Regions from separate parts of the Homo sapiens genome. Here all the other regions are linked to region 5. Evidence: promoter capture Hi-C in human tissues and cell types (Jung and others, 2019). All regions are on one chromosome and are shown on one strand. Each heading gives the region's core, a stretch centred on a gene start or on the middle of the fragment in contact. The rest is flanking DNA. Distances are from core to core; before and after follow the strand shown. Region 1 overlaps FAM193A (family with sequence similarity 193 member A). Region 2 overlaps FAM193A (family with sequence similarity 193 member A). Region 3 overlaps FAM193A (family with sequence similarity 193 member A). Region 4 overlaps ZFYVE28 (zinc finger FYVE-type containing 28). Region 5 holds the start of RNF4 (ring finger protein 4).

The links. Contacts are between HindIII fragments. The study calls those that stand out against the background at their distance.
Region 1: a fragment that was not itself captured here is called in contact with the fragment with the promoter of RNF4 in region 5 in 2 of the 25 tissues and cell types used here (dorsolateral prefrontal cortex and hippocampus).
Region 2: a contact is called between a fragment that was not itself captured here and the fragment with the promoter of RNF4 in region 5, in 2 of the 25 tissues and cell types used here (IMR-90 fibroblasts and aorta).
Region 3: a contact is called between a fragment that was not itself captured here and the fragment with the promoter of RNF4 in region 5, in 1 of the 25 tissues and cell types used here (mesenchymal stem cells).
Region 4: a fragment that was not itself captured here is called in contact with the fragment with the promoter of RNF4 in region 5 in 2 of the 25 tissues and cell types used here (dorsolateral prefrontal cortex and mesenchymal stem cells).

The regions. Positions count from the first base shown.
Region 1 is chr4:2,679,603-2,682,318 of GRCh38, reverse strand. The region is part of intron 13 of FAM193A (family with sequence similarity 193 member A); the gene reads right to left. Among named protein-coding and RNA genes, the nearest start is that of TNIP2, 75 kb to the left of the region's middle. The HindIII fragment of the contact is 5,686 bases long and covers 1-2,716 here.
Region 2 is chr4:2,658,583-2,661,282 of GRCh38, reverse strand. FAM193A (family with sequence similarity 193 member A) reads right to left here. Exons shown (of 21, transcript NM_001366318.2): 9 at 1,613-1,725; 10 at 1,229-1,471. Among named protein-coding and RNA genes, the nearest start is that of TNIP2, 96 kb to the left of the region's middle. RefSeq lists enhancers at 1,762-2,261, 2,262-2,700. The HindIII fragment of the contact is 4,879 bases long and covers 1-2,700 here.
Region 3 is chr4:2,702,169-2,704,907 of GRCh38, reverse strand. All of the region lies in intron 19 of FAM193A (family with sequence similarity 193 member A), which reads right to left. Among named protein-coding and RNA genes, the nearest start is that of TNIP2, 53 kb to the left of the region's middle. The HindIII fragment of the contact is 5,214 bases long and covers 1-2,739 here.
Region 4 is chr4:2,308,218-2,310,917 of GRCh38, reverse strand. All of the region lies in intron 7 of ZFYVE28 (zinc finger FYVE-type containing 28), which reads left to right. Among named protein-coding and RNA genes, the nearest start is that of MXD4, 47 kb to the right of the region's middle. The HindIII fragment of the contact is 7,202 bases long and covers 1-2,700 here.
Region 5 is chr4:2,467,667-2,470,366 of GRCh38, reverse strand. RNF4 (ring finger protein 4) reads right to left here and starts at 1,261. Exons shown (of 8, transcript NM_002938.5): 1 at 1,109-1,261. LOC107986250 (a long non-coding RNA gene) reads left to right here and starts at 1,416. Exons shown (of 2, transcript XR_001741551.3): 1 at 1,416-1,967. RefSeq lists enhancers at 619-738, 783-1,355, 1,039-1,398 and a silencer at 1,549-1,718. The HindIII fragment of the contact is 20,287 bases long and covers 1-2,700 here.

The sequences.
Region 1 (2,716 bases), core at 197-2,696, 210 kb before region 5:
ATACATGTCTACAAGAAACCTGCTTTACATATGAAACCCTGAGAAGGTGGCTCGCGCCTGTAATCCCAGCACTTTGCGAGGCTGAGGTGGGCGGATCACAAGGTCAGGAGATCGAGACCATCCTGGCTAACATGGTGAAACCCTGTCTTTACTAAATATACAAAAAATTAGCCGGGCATGGTGGTGGGCACCTGTAGTCCCAGCTACTTGGGAGGCTGAGGCAGGAGAATGGTGTGAACTCAGGAGGTGGAGCTTGCAGTGAGCCGAGATCGCATCACTGCACTCCAGCCTGGGCGACCGAGGAAGACTCTGTCTCAAAAAAAAAAAAAAACCAAAAAAAAAAAAACCCTGAGAAGTTAAAAGTAAAGGGATGGAAACAACCAATGGATCAATAAAGAAATTACAAAGAAAAGCAGAAAATACTTAGAGACAAATGAAAACAAAAACATAACATACTGAAACTTACGGGACGCAGTGAAAGCAAGCACTAAGAGCAAAATGTATAGCTACAAACACATCAAAAAACAAGAAAGATCTCTATCAGCAACCTAACTAGGATAGGCGTGGTGGCTCATGCCTGTAATTCCAGCACCTTGGGAGGCTGAGGCAGGAGGACTGCTTGAGCCCAGGAGTTTGAGACCAACCTGGGCAACATGGTGAGACCTCCGTCCCTACGTAAATAAATACATAGACAGACAGATAGATAGCTGGGCATGGTGGCACACACCTGTAGTCCAAGCTACGAGACTATGGGTCAGGAGGATTGCTTGAGCCCAGGAGGTCGAGGTTGCAGTGACCCAAGATCGCACCACTACACTCCAGGCTGGGCAACTGAGTAAGCTTTGTCTCAATAACAACAACAAATAAAATGAAACAAAAAACCCTCCCTAACTTCACATCTTAATGAATTAGAAAAAGAACAATCTAAACCCAAAGCTAGCAGAAGAAAGGTAATTTAGAGCAGAGATTAATGATCAATGAAATAGAGAATAGAAAAACAATAGGGGAAAAAAAAAATCAATGAAACCAAAATATAGTTCTTTGAAAAGAGAAACAAAACTGACAAAACTTTAGTGAGATGGAGTAAGAAAAAAAAAAGACTCAAATTACTATAATCAGAAATGAAAGTGGGGACATTATTATTGATTACACAGAAATAAAAGGGGCTGGGAGTGGTGGCGCACACCTGTAATCATAGCTACTTGGGAGGCTAACACAGGAGAATCATTTGAGCTCAAGCGTTCGAGGCTCCAGTGAGCTATGATCGTGCTACTGCACTCCAGCCTGGGCAACAGAGCAAGCATATCTCTAAAAAGCAGAAAATTAAATTAAAATTAAGAAAAAAACATAAAAGGTATTATAAGAAAGTACTGGCTGGGCTCGGCGCTGTAGCTCACGCCTGTAATCCCAGCACTTTGGGAGGTCCAGGTGGGTGGATCACCTGAGGTCAGGGGTTCGAGACCAGCCTGACCAACATGGTGAAACCCCATCTCTACCAAAAATACAAAAATTAGCCGGGCATGGTGGTGGGCGCCTGTAATCCCAACTATATGGGAGGCTGAGGCAGGAGAATCTCTTGAACCTGGGAGGCAGAGGTTGCAGTGAGCCAAGATGGTGCCATTGCACTTCAGCCTAGGTGACAAAGCAAGACTCCGTCTCAAAAAAAAAAGTAAGTAAGTATTGGCTGGGCTTGGTAACTCATGCCTATAATCCCAGCACTTTGGGAGGCTGAGGTAGTAGGACTGCTTTAGCCCAGGAGTTTCAGTCCAGACTGGGTAACATAGTGAGACCCTGTCTTCTCTCTGGAAGAGTCCAAAACAATAAAAAAAAAATTAGCTGGGAGTGGTGGCACATGCCTGTAATCCCAGCTATTGGGGGGCCAAGGGAGGAGGAATGCTTGAGCCCAGGAGTTTGAGGCTGCAATGAGCTATGATCATGTCATTGTACTCCTGCCTGGGTGACAGAGTGAGATGCCGTTTCAAAGAAAAAAGAAAGTATTACGAACAACTGTACACCAACACACTGGATAAAACAGATGAAATGAAAAAATTTTTAGAAACACAAAACCTATCAAGACGAAATCATAAAGAAATAGAAAAGTCTGAACAGACCTGTAACTAGTAAGGAGATTGAACTGGTAATCAAAAACCACCCAATAGGCTGGGCGCAGTGGCTCACGCCTGTAATCCCAGCACTCTGGGAGGCCAAGATGGGTGGATAACCTGAGGTCAGGAGTTTGAGACCAGCCTGGCCAACATGGCAAAACCCCGTCTCTACTAAAAATACAAAAATTAGCTGGGTGTGGTGGCATGTGCCTGTAGTTCCAGTTACTTTGGAGGCTGAGGCCAGGGAATCGCTTAGAATCTGAGAGGCGGAGGTTGCAGTGAGTGGAGATTGTGCCACTGCATTCCAGCCTGGGTGACAGAGCAAGACTCCGTCTCAAAGAAAAAAAAAAAAATCACCCAATAAAGAAAAGCCCCAAACCTGATGGCTTCACTAGTCAATTCTACCAAATATTTAAAGAATTAATACCAATCTTTCTCAAAGTTTCCAAAAAACTGAAGAGGAGGGAACACTTTCTAACTCATGTCCTGAGCATATCCCCATACCAAAGCCAAAGACACTGTAAGAAAAACTACAGGGTCGGGCGCGGTGGCTCACACCTGTAATCCCAACACTTTGGGAGACCGAGGCGGGTGGATCACCTGAGGTCGGG
Region 2 (2,700 bases), core at 18-2,517, 190 kb before region 5:
AAAAGATAACACTGGAGATTTTCAAATCATAGTTTACATTTGGAAGACATTGATCACAAGCTGCTGAAGGCCCAGATGTCCCGAGAACCTAGGCTCCCCGTAACTGGTGATGGGCAGTTCCGGCCCAAGGAGAAAGGCTCCCACAGCCAATTTCTTCCACTACCACACGTGACACAAGAGACCATAACTGACATCAGCAGCTGTGACAAATGAACAGGGATGAAATTTTCCATCTTAAATTTTCATTAGGCTATATATGTTTAATTTTTATGTTTCAGTAAGAAGTTGGATAACAGCCAGCTGCAAAAATGTCAACACTCTTTCTTGTGCCCTGGAGAGTACACAGTGTCTCTAAGGCAATAAACAGCAGCCTGCAATCTTTGTATGAAGAGAGTCAGTGAGTTTAAACCAGTCCTTTCAGAATTATTTTGTCTGAGAACAAGCCCAAATTGAAAATGGAAAGACTGAAGGAAAACGTCAGTCACCATGAGAAATCCAGACAGAAGGAATGAACACAAGTCAGTTGGTCAGAGAAATCCCAGAAACGCTGCATAGCCAAGGTCAGGAACAACAATCTCTCCCACTGCACACTTCCACATGGAACATGATGCCTGTGTGCTCTACGATACACGTAAACTAAACCTAAGCTGACTTTGGCAACTACATATGATCAAGTGCAACCCTTTTGGAAATTAGCATGTGAAGCCTCCCCAAATGACAGGGTCACAACTCTGAAGAAATCTGGGAACAGCCAACTACAATGTGAATTGGTGACAGCTGCACAACAATGTACTTCTAATCATGCGGGAACATGAAAAACAGAAACCTTCAACTGCTTGCTAAAGCGATCACCTGAGTTCTTAGCAAGACATGAAACAAGCATGAGTGCTGGGCTGACAGGGAGACAGGACAGACGGCGGACTGGTCACCCTTTAGGAGAATGAGGAGATGTGAGGCCGGAATTAGAGACACTTCTTCTCTGCATACCAACATGTTTTTTCTTTACTGGCCTTTATTAATTTACCATGTTTTTTTTTTCCCAGATAAACAGTGTTAAAAGTTTGGGTTTACTGATTTCATGTTTTAAAAGCTGCATTAAAAACCTCAGGGTCCCTTGTCATGAAAAGCACAATAATGATGTTCATACTTCTGTGGACATTACTGTATGTATTTCTCATTACTGGGGCGACTTAAATTTCGGAAACTTTATTACAAAGTCACAACTTACAAAGTTGGTGCCGAGCCACTGTCTGTGAGGATGAGCCTGGGGTGCTGCTGAATTGTGATGGGAGAGCTGGAGCCGGACCCCGAGCTTGCAGATGACACACTGGGCGGGCTCCTCTCAGCAAGATAGTCAGGAGCAGGATCCACTTGAAGTGGGAGCTGGTGAATGTGGATGTCATCAGTGACGGGGGGGTCCATGATACCACACGTGAGGATGTGTGAGAGACTGCAGTCATCGCAAGCACATCTGATCAGGAATTAAGGACAGTTACCAAGCCAACCAATGCACAAGACTAGACCATGCTCTCTAAGGGTCGGTTCTAGGCCTCCACTCAGCCCAGTGAAGGTCCAATGGGCCAGTCGTGCTGACACCACAACCCAGCCTTACCTTCTCCTGTAGTTGCAGTTGGGGCAGTCGGGCATGCTCAGCCGGGACGATAACATGTGCCTCATGGTGTCTGTGAAGTTGTTCTCGCCAGTAACTGCTTTCTTATTGGTTAACTAGAGGAAATTTTAAAATGCTTTAATCTTGCAAGACCCTTCCCCGAGACATGGCTCATTATTTTTCAGTAATTCTGCTGACATGTATCATGTTCACGGGCACTGCTTCCTCAGCGGGACAGGACCAGGAATACAGGGGCAGCAGACCTGGAGTCGGCAGCAAGCTGGGGGCTGAGCTGCAAAGGGCTCGGGTACCAGGAGACCCTAATCGCTTTTGTCTTCAGCAAACATGCTGCAGTGCGCCCTCACAGCACACACCTGATGCAGAAACCCGGCCTTTACCCTGTCTGCCATGTGCTTGGTACTTGCAAGGTACTGAGAACAGAGCTGTAGGAATGAAAAGTGGCACGTGGAGGGCAAGGGGTCGGCCTCGGAGCTATTGAGGAAATGGCACCTCAACTTCTAACAGACAAGGTGAGCATCTGCATTTCAAAGGAGAAGGAACTCTGGACCCACTCTGGCAATGGGACAGGTGGCAGCTGGAAGGGCCACTCAAAAGGACGGGATGGCCGGGAAAGGTGGCTCACGCCTGTAATCCCAGCACCTTGGGAGGCAGAGGCAGGCGGATCACCTGAGGTCAGGAGTTTGAGACCAGCCTGGCCAACATGGTGAAACCCCATCTCTACTAAAAATACAAAAATTAGCCAGGCGTGGTGGCTGGCACCTGTAATCCCAGCTACTCAGGAGGCTGAGACACGAGTACCGCTTGAACCCGGGAGGCAGAGGTTGCAGTGAGCCGAGTTCACGCCACTGCACTTCAGCCTGGACGACAGAGTGAGACTTTGTCTCAAAACAACAACAACAACAAAAGCACAGGGACACATGCAGAATGGGGAAAGGGAAGAGGTAAGCATGCCACAACACTGGTGCCATCTGTATACCTGTGGTGCCCAGAGGAGACCACGGGCATGCAAATGTGGAGACAGGCATGGGGTCAAGGCCAGGGAACCACCAATATTTGCAGAAAGACCAATG
Region 3 (2,739 bases), core at 147-2,646, 230 kb before region 5:
AATACAAAAGGGAAAAGACCAAAAACCTAGTAAGAAATGAGAAATAGGTATGAATAGAAAATTCATACACACAAAAAGAAATAGCCCTTAATAATATATTGACCTCATTGTAATTAGAGGAGAAAAATGCAAATGAAAACTACACTGAGGGCTTACTGTAGCTAACGGATTGGCAACAGTTAAAAAGCCTGACAACTACTCTATAAGCAAGGCTGTGGCCAAACAGGCACTCAGATGCTGCTGGTGGGTGGGCTGACTGGAGGGTTTGGAGAACTTGGACGTAGCTAGCAAAAAAACTATGAAAGCACTTACCTTTTTAAAAATTTTTATTTTATTTTTTTTTCAGATAGGGTCTTGCTCTGTTGCCCAGACTGGAATGCAGTGGCGTGATCTTGACTCACTGCAACCTCCGCCTCCCAGGCTCAGGTGATCCTCCTGCATCGGTGTCTCCAGTAGCTGAGACTATAGGTGAGTGCCACCACACCCGACTAATTTTTGTATTTTTAGTAGAGACAGGGTTCCACATGTTGGTCAGGCTGGCCTCGAACTTCTGACCTCAAGTGATCTGCCTGTCTTGGCCTCTCAAAATGCTGGGATTATGGATGTGAGCCACCATGCCCAGCCTTAATTTTTTTTTTTTTTTTTTGAGATGGAGTCTCACTCTGTTGCCAGGCTGGAGGGCAGTGGTGTGATCTCGGCTCACTGCAACCTCCACCTCCCCAGTTCAAGCAATTATCCTGCCTCAACCTCCCGAGTAGCTGGGATTATAGGCGTGTGCCACCACGCCCAACTGATTTTTGTATTTTTAGTAGAGACGGGGTTTCATGTTGGCCAGCATGGTCTCCATCTCCTGACCTCGTGATCCGCCTCCCTCGGCCTCCCAACATGTTGGGATAACAGGCGTGAGCCACCATGCCCGGCTGCTTTAAATTTTAAGAGACAGGGTCTCACTCTGTCACCCAGGCTGGAGTGCAGTGGTGCAATCATGACACACCGCAGCCTCAAACTCCTGGGCTCCAGCGATTCTCCTGCCTCAGCCTCCCAAGTAGCTGGGACTACAGGCGTGCACCACCATGCCCAGATAAGTGGCTTTTTTTTTTTTTTTTAGTAGAGATGGGGTCTTGCTATATTGCCCAGGCTGGTCTTAAATTCCCGGCCTCAGGTAATCCTCCTGCCTCAGCTTCCCAAAGTGTTGGGATTACAGGCGTGAGCCACCACACCGGGAACACACTTACCTTTTGACCCAGCCCTCTCCCTTCTGGGAAAGTGCTCCAAGGAAACACCTCCAAACAATATGGAAACACATATGCACACAAGTACTTACTGTAGCACTGGGTGTAATGATTAAAACAAAGCATTGAGTCCGGGCACGGTGGCTCACACCTGTAATCCCAGCACTTTGGGAGGCCAAGGTGGGCAGGTCACTTAAGGTCAGGAGTTCAAGGCCAATCTGGCCAACATGGTGAAACCTCATCTCTATTAAAAATACAAAAATTAGCTGGGTATGGTGGCACGTGCCTGTAATTTCAGCTACTTGGGAGGCTGAGGTGGGAGAATTGCTTCAACCTGGGGGGTGGAGGATGCAGTGAGCCGAGATTGCGCCATTGCACTCCAGCCTAGATGACAGAGTGAGACTCCACCTTAAAACAGAAACAAAAACAAAAAACCAAAGCATTAGAAACAACCTAAACGCTCGCACAAAGAAGAGTGACTGCAGAAATCATCGTACACTTTAAATGGAGTACCGTGTCGCTGCAGAAAGAATGAGGACAATCTCTACGAACTGATGTGCAGTGATTCCCAGAATATATGAAGTAGAAAAGAACCCAGAAGTCACTATTATGTCTATAATACACTACCTTTTATGTAAAAAAGAAAAGCAAATAAGAAACTGATTAGTTACCTACAGGGAGTGGGTGGGAACAGATTAAAAAAAAAGAGGAACTGGGTAGGGGAGAAAACAAATGGAACACAAATGGAAAAACGCAATCAGGTGTGTTTTCAATCAATAACGTAATTGTACTAAAGGTGAAAAGAACTAATTTAAGTCATTTGTAAATTCAGTGTAATCACCACACCCTGAGGCTAAAGACAAAAAGAACTGAACAAATACCGAAAGCATGCCCGGAGTTTTCCATCGGGTAAGGGCAGGGACTTCTGAACCCTTTACCTGTGTTGTAGGACTCAGCAAGTCAGTAAAGGCACCATGGATGATGGGGTCCAGGTTCTTACTGTCTAAGGAGTTACAAAGGTGGACGGGGAAGGGAGAACGCTCACTGTAGCACAGGAGTGGGGCTGGGATATCTGTGGGAACTCACGGCTTGTACATAGCAATTAGTGTGTGTAGGTGGCAGGCGCTCGTGTGCACATGCTCACACCCCCACTCCTCCTGCTCTGCTGACTGAGAGGGCCTAAAAGCAATGCCATATGGCAGTGTCCAGGTCTGGGTTTCTGAACACCACTGTTGAAGAAAGAGGAGGGCTCCTTGGAGAAATGGCTGGTTCAGGGCTGGGAGAGAGAAGACACGAGATGAGCCCGGAGCATCGAACCATGACACAAAGTATAAAATGCTTAAAGGCTGGTAGGGCCGCATCAAATGGTCTAAGGAAAAAGCCATTCCGAGGGGGCTCCCACTGACCGAATCTCAGACAATCAAAACAGCAACATAAAGAGTGTTCGTAAAAGATTCTCATCTATAGCATCAAGTAAAACTTCGTGGATCTATCCTGATATAACTAA
Region 4 (2,700 bases), core at 113-2,612, 160 kb after region 5:
GATGGCTTTCCTTATGTATTCTTCTAAACATTTAAAGAAGAAATAACACAAATCTTATATAAATTCTTTCAGGGAATAGAAAAAAAGACATTTTCTAACTTTTTTTATAATTATTGAACAAACTCTCACTTTGTCATGCAGGCTGGAGTGTGGTGGCACAATCTAGACTCACTGCAATCTCTGCCTCCCAGGCTCAAGCGATCCTCCCACCTCAGCCTCCTGAGTAGCTGAGACCACAGGCATGCACCACCATGCCCAACTAATTTTTGTATTTTTTGTAGAGACAGGGTTTTACTGTGTTGCCCCAGCTGGTCTCAAACTCCTGGGCTCAAGCAATCTGACTGCCTTGGCCTCCCAAAATGCTGTGATTACAGGCATGAGCCACCATACCCAGCCCTAACTCTTTTTTTTGTTTTTCAATAAGAGTATAATCTAGACATTTAAACCTGACCAAGATATTACAAGAAACAAAAACTACACCAATCTCTCATGAACATAGATGCAAATACCCTTAAAAAGATACAGACAAATGAAAATCAACCATATATAAATAAGATATATCATGACCAAGAGAAATATATCTGGGCACAGTGGCTCACACTTGTAATCCCAGGACTTTGGAAGGCTGAGGCAGGAGGATCGCTTGAGCCCAGGAGTTTGGGACCAACCTGGGCAATATAGTAAGACCTGATCTCTACAAAAAATTTACAAATTAGTTGAGCATGGTGGTACACATCTGTACTGACAGCTACTTGGGAGGCTGAGATGGGATGACTGCTTGAGCCAGGGAGGCAGAGGCTGCAGTGAGCTGTGATCAGGCCACTGCACTCCAGCCTGGGTGACAGCGCAAGACATTATCTCAAAATTAAAAAAAAAAGAAATGTATTCCAGATATGCAAGACTGGCTTAACATATGGAAATCAAATTGATGTTTTGCCACATTAATTTTAAAAATTGGAAGAAAAATCATATAATTTTGAAAGATTCAAGAAAAGCATTTGAAAAAATTTCACACCAATTTTATGGTGAAAACATCTCTTAGCAATAAACAAAACAGAACAAGAAAAGCATCTCTTAGCAAACTAGGAATAGGAGGGAATTTCCTTAACCTGGTCACAGATAGATATAGAAACAGATTTCGTCCGTGCGTATCTCTGTGTGTGTGTTGTCTGTTGTGTGTGTACTGCAGCACACTTCCCTGAGATTGGGAAGAAGATGTCTACTATTCACTATCTCCATTTAACATTGTTTTCTGGCCCAGCAAGTGCAATAAGGCAAAAATAGAAGGAAAATTAGGAAGTTACACAGCATTGGAAATGAAGGACTAAAACTGCCATTTTATGTAGATAACGTGATCAAGTACCTAGGAAACTCAGGAGCATCTTCAAACTATTAGAAATAATAAGTAGATTTAGCAAGGTCACTAGGTGAAACATCAATATACAAAAATAAGTGGTCTTTCTGTATGCCAGCAATAAATAAATGCGAAATGAAATCAAAATACTGTCTTAGTCAATTTTGTGTTGCTATCACAGAATACCTAAGACTCAGTAATTTATAAAGCAAGGAGGTTCGTTTAGCTCATGATTCTGGAGGTTGGGAGGTCCAAGATCAAGTGGCTGCATCTGGTTAATTTCTTGTGCGGACCTCGTGCTCTGTCATAACGTGGCAGAGAAGCAGGAGGGGAAGGGGGCGTGTGCAAAGAGGCCAAACACAAGAGGCAACCTCACTTCATGACAACCCACTCTTGTGGTAACTAATTTGGTCTCATGAGAAATGCATTAATCTCCTTAATGACCTAATCACCTCTTAAAGACACCACCTCTAAACACCACCACATTGGGAACTAAATTTCAACCTGAGTTTTGATGGGGACAAACCACCCCTAAACCATAGCAAATACCACCTATGGTAGTGCCAGTAAATATCAAATACGTAAGCATAAATCAAATTAACGATGTCCAAGACCTCCATTGAAAGTTATAAAATGTTATTACCATAAATTTTTAAAGCCCTGGACAGCAATTCCATTCAGAGAGAGGAACCCCTGATGTTATGAAGATATCAGTTGGTCTCAAATTAATCTATGAGTTCAATGCAGTCTCAATCAAAATCCCAGAAGCTAGCTAGCTTCCTTCCTTCCTCCCTCCCTCTTTCTCTCTTTTCTTTCCTTCCTTCCTTTCTTTTCTTTTTTCTTTCTTTTCTTTTCTTTTTTCTTTTCTTTTCTTTTCTTTCTTTCTCTTTCTTTCTTTCTTTCTTTCTTTCTTTCTTTCTTTCTTTCTTTCTTTCTGTCTTCTTTCTTTCTTTCTCTCTCTCTGTCTCTCCTTCCTTCCTTTCTTGCTTTCCTTCTTTCCTTTCTCTTTCTTTCTGCATTCTCTCCTCCCCCTCCCCTCCCCTCCCTCCCTCCCTCCCTTCCTTCCTTCCTTGTAGAAATTGATAAACTAATACTAAAATGCATGTGGAGATGCAAGGGGCCTGGAATAGCCAAGCAGCAGCAGAACGTTGTCTGTTCTACTCTCAATGGGCTTTGGGTAGTTTCCACAAATAGTGCTGCTGTGACTACCCCTGTGTGTGTCTCCAGGTGAACATATGTATGCTTTTCTGCTGTGTGTACTTCATAAAAAAAGAACAAAGGCCAGGCACAGTGGCTTATGCCTATAATCCCAACACTTTGGGAGGCTGAGGTGGGAGGAGCTCTTG
Region 5 (2,700 bases), core at 12-2,511:
CCAAGAAAGTAACAAAAGATTCCCTTCAATGTCTCTTTTATTGACAGTGGTCCCAAAACTCCTGGTCAATGAATTCAAAACCCAAATCTTGCAGGTAGGACTTAACCTCATCTGCTGCCAAATAGCTGGCTATGTGACCTTGGGCAGACCACTTCACTTTTCTGGACCTCAGTCTCCCCAGTCAGTTGGACAGTCTAAGCCAGGCTCCAGAGCTGAGACCCTACGTCTGGCTCAAGAACTTGGTGCAGAAACAGAACGAAGATTATTAAGTTTGTGAACGTCTATGGGAACTGACAAGTGAAAGACAAAAGCTGAAATCCCTACCAAAACGGCTTGCCCAAGCTCTATCCTTTTCCCTCTTCCCTCGATGGATCAAAGGCGGAAAAGCGGTGTTTACTAGCAACTCTGTTTCGGGTCGTGAGAATCTTCATACACCTGTCTATAGGCGCGCCAGAGCGGTGAAGGGCCCGAGCGGTGCAGGGCTGGGCCGCAAGCCTCACAGTCGCACGTTCCACCAACCACCAGCCGGGGCCCGGAAGCGCGCCCGGAAATCGAGGCCCTACTAAGTTTTAGACTGCGACCTCGGCGCCCCCACGGTCAGGCCCGCACCCGTACTCAGATCCTCCCGACCTACAAAAGGCCCCGCCACGCGGCCCACGCACCCCGGCAAACTCGCAGGCCCCACGATGGCGGGGCGGCGGCGCGAACACACAAAGGAGGCGTCGTCAGCGGGGAACAAAAACCCTGCCCGGGTCTTCCCCCTAACAGCACATCCTGCCCGACTTTCCAAGTGACCTTGGGGGCGTTCCTGCCCCTCCCAGAGTCTCAGTTTCCCTTCCTAGGCTAGGAACTAAGCCCCATGGCCGCGGCCCCCCAGGGTGAGCCGAGACCCAGACGCAGACCTCCTAACTTCTGTTGCCCGCGCCAAGCCGGGCTCGGTGCGCCCGCGCGGACGGCAGTGCGAGCGACCAGAGCTGGCTCGAGGTCCCGGGCTGCAAAGCCTCGGCTGGGTCAAGCCGCGCAGCGCGGCTCCCCCAAGAGGCGCGGGCCGAGGCCTCTGTAGGCCGCGAAGCTGCCTAAACCTCGCATCTGCAAGGCCCTGACTTACCGCTGCTTTCCCGCAAAGCTCGGCCTAACCTGGAGCTAGTTAGGTCCGCAGGCGCCACCGCCGGCGCACTCCGGAGAAGAAGCTCCTTCTTCAGCCGCCCAGGAGAGCTCCTCGAGAAAGATGCCGCCGCCTCAACAGCAACCCACTTCCGCTTCGGAGGCCTCGGCTCCGCCCCCCATCATGTCCCCATTGGCCGCCCGCCTACTCTACTTCCGCGGTCGGCCGGGTAAGGACAAATTTTTTAATCCTATTGGATAAGAAAACCATCTGTTACCACTTTAAAACGCGCCTCTTTCCGCCCCCGCCCACAATCGAGCGCACTAACTCGCACCTTCCGGCAAGAGACGGCGCGGGCGCGCCCCGCCCGCAAGGTTTTTCGGGAGTCACGGTCTGAGGGCGACCCGGGCGACCCGGTCGCCCGTGCCCGGCTGCCACTGACCGCTCCAACGCCGCCAGGGACGACCCGCCAGCTGCCTCCGGAGCCGAGCAGGCCCCGAACCTTCCCATTCCTAGATTTCCAGCCGCACAACAGCCGCGGTGCCCCTGGCTCGACGCAGCTGGCCGGAGGCGCGGAGCTGGTCGTTCGTCCCGCCCGCCGTTCCGCGCCCCTCTCCCGGCTCTTGTTTCCTCGCCTCTTAACGAGGCCTTTGTGAGGAAGGTTGCTGGGCCTTGGGACTCTGACGATCGGCTGGAAACCAGGCCTGGCCCTGTTTCAGCATCCCCGCGTGCCAAGCCCTGGGCCGGCGTGCGGGTCCCTGCCCCTGCGAGGAAGCTGGGACTTTTGCAGGCCTGGGTGGAGACGTGTACATAACAGAGGAAGAGTGTGGAGGATTGGAGGACTCAGGGCAGCACGGCAGAGGTGCATGCAGGTCCCCGGTCGGACTGGAGAATGGGCGGTGGGTTTCTTGAGCTCCAGTCCCTGAGCTCGACTTTGACGTGGGTTTAGCAACCAGGAAAAAAGCCCACCTTGTCCCTGCTGCCTGAGAATACCCAGACCTTAGTCCATGGCCAGCATCTCTGGTCCCTCGGCACCCTCAGGCAACGTGAAGGTCACCCCAAATGCCTTGGGTTACATTGTTTCCTTACAGTGAGTTTGTTTGTTTTAGTGGCGCGATCTCGGCTCACTGCAAGCTCTAACCTCCTGGGTTCACGTGATTCTCCTGCCTCAGCCTCCCGAATAGCTGGGATTACAGGCGCCTGCCACCACGCCCGGCTAATTTTCTTTGTATTTTTAGTAGAGATGGAGTTCCATCATGTTGGCCAGGCTGGTCTCGAGCTCCTGACCTCAGGTGATCCACCCTCCTTGGCCTCCAAAAGTGCTGGGATTACTGGTGTGAGCCACCTCGCCCGGCCACCTTACAGTGAGTTTCTAACCTCGAAAATGGAGTCAAATAACGGAATGACAAGGCAGATAGAAACCAGAGCATTAACGTTTTTGTGTTGCATTTACAAACAATATGTGTTTGCTATTTTTCGTAATTGTAAGGAAATCTGGCATGGTAGAGTATCTGATAGATAAATGTAATTCTCATGTAAAATATCTAAGTATTTGTGTTTTTTGTTTGTTTGTTTGTTTGTTTTGAGACGGAGTC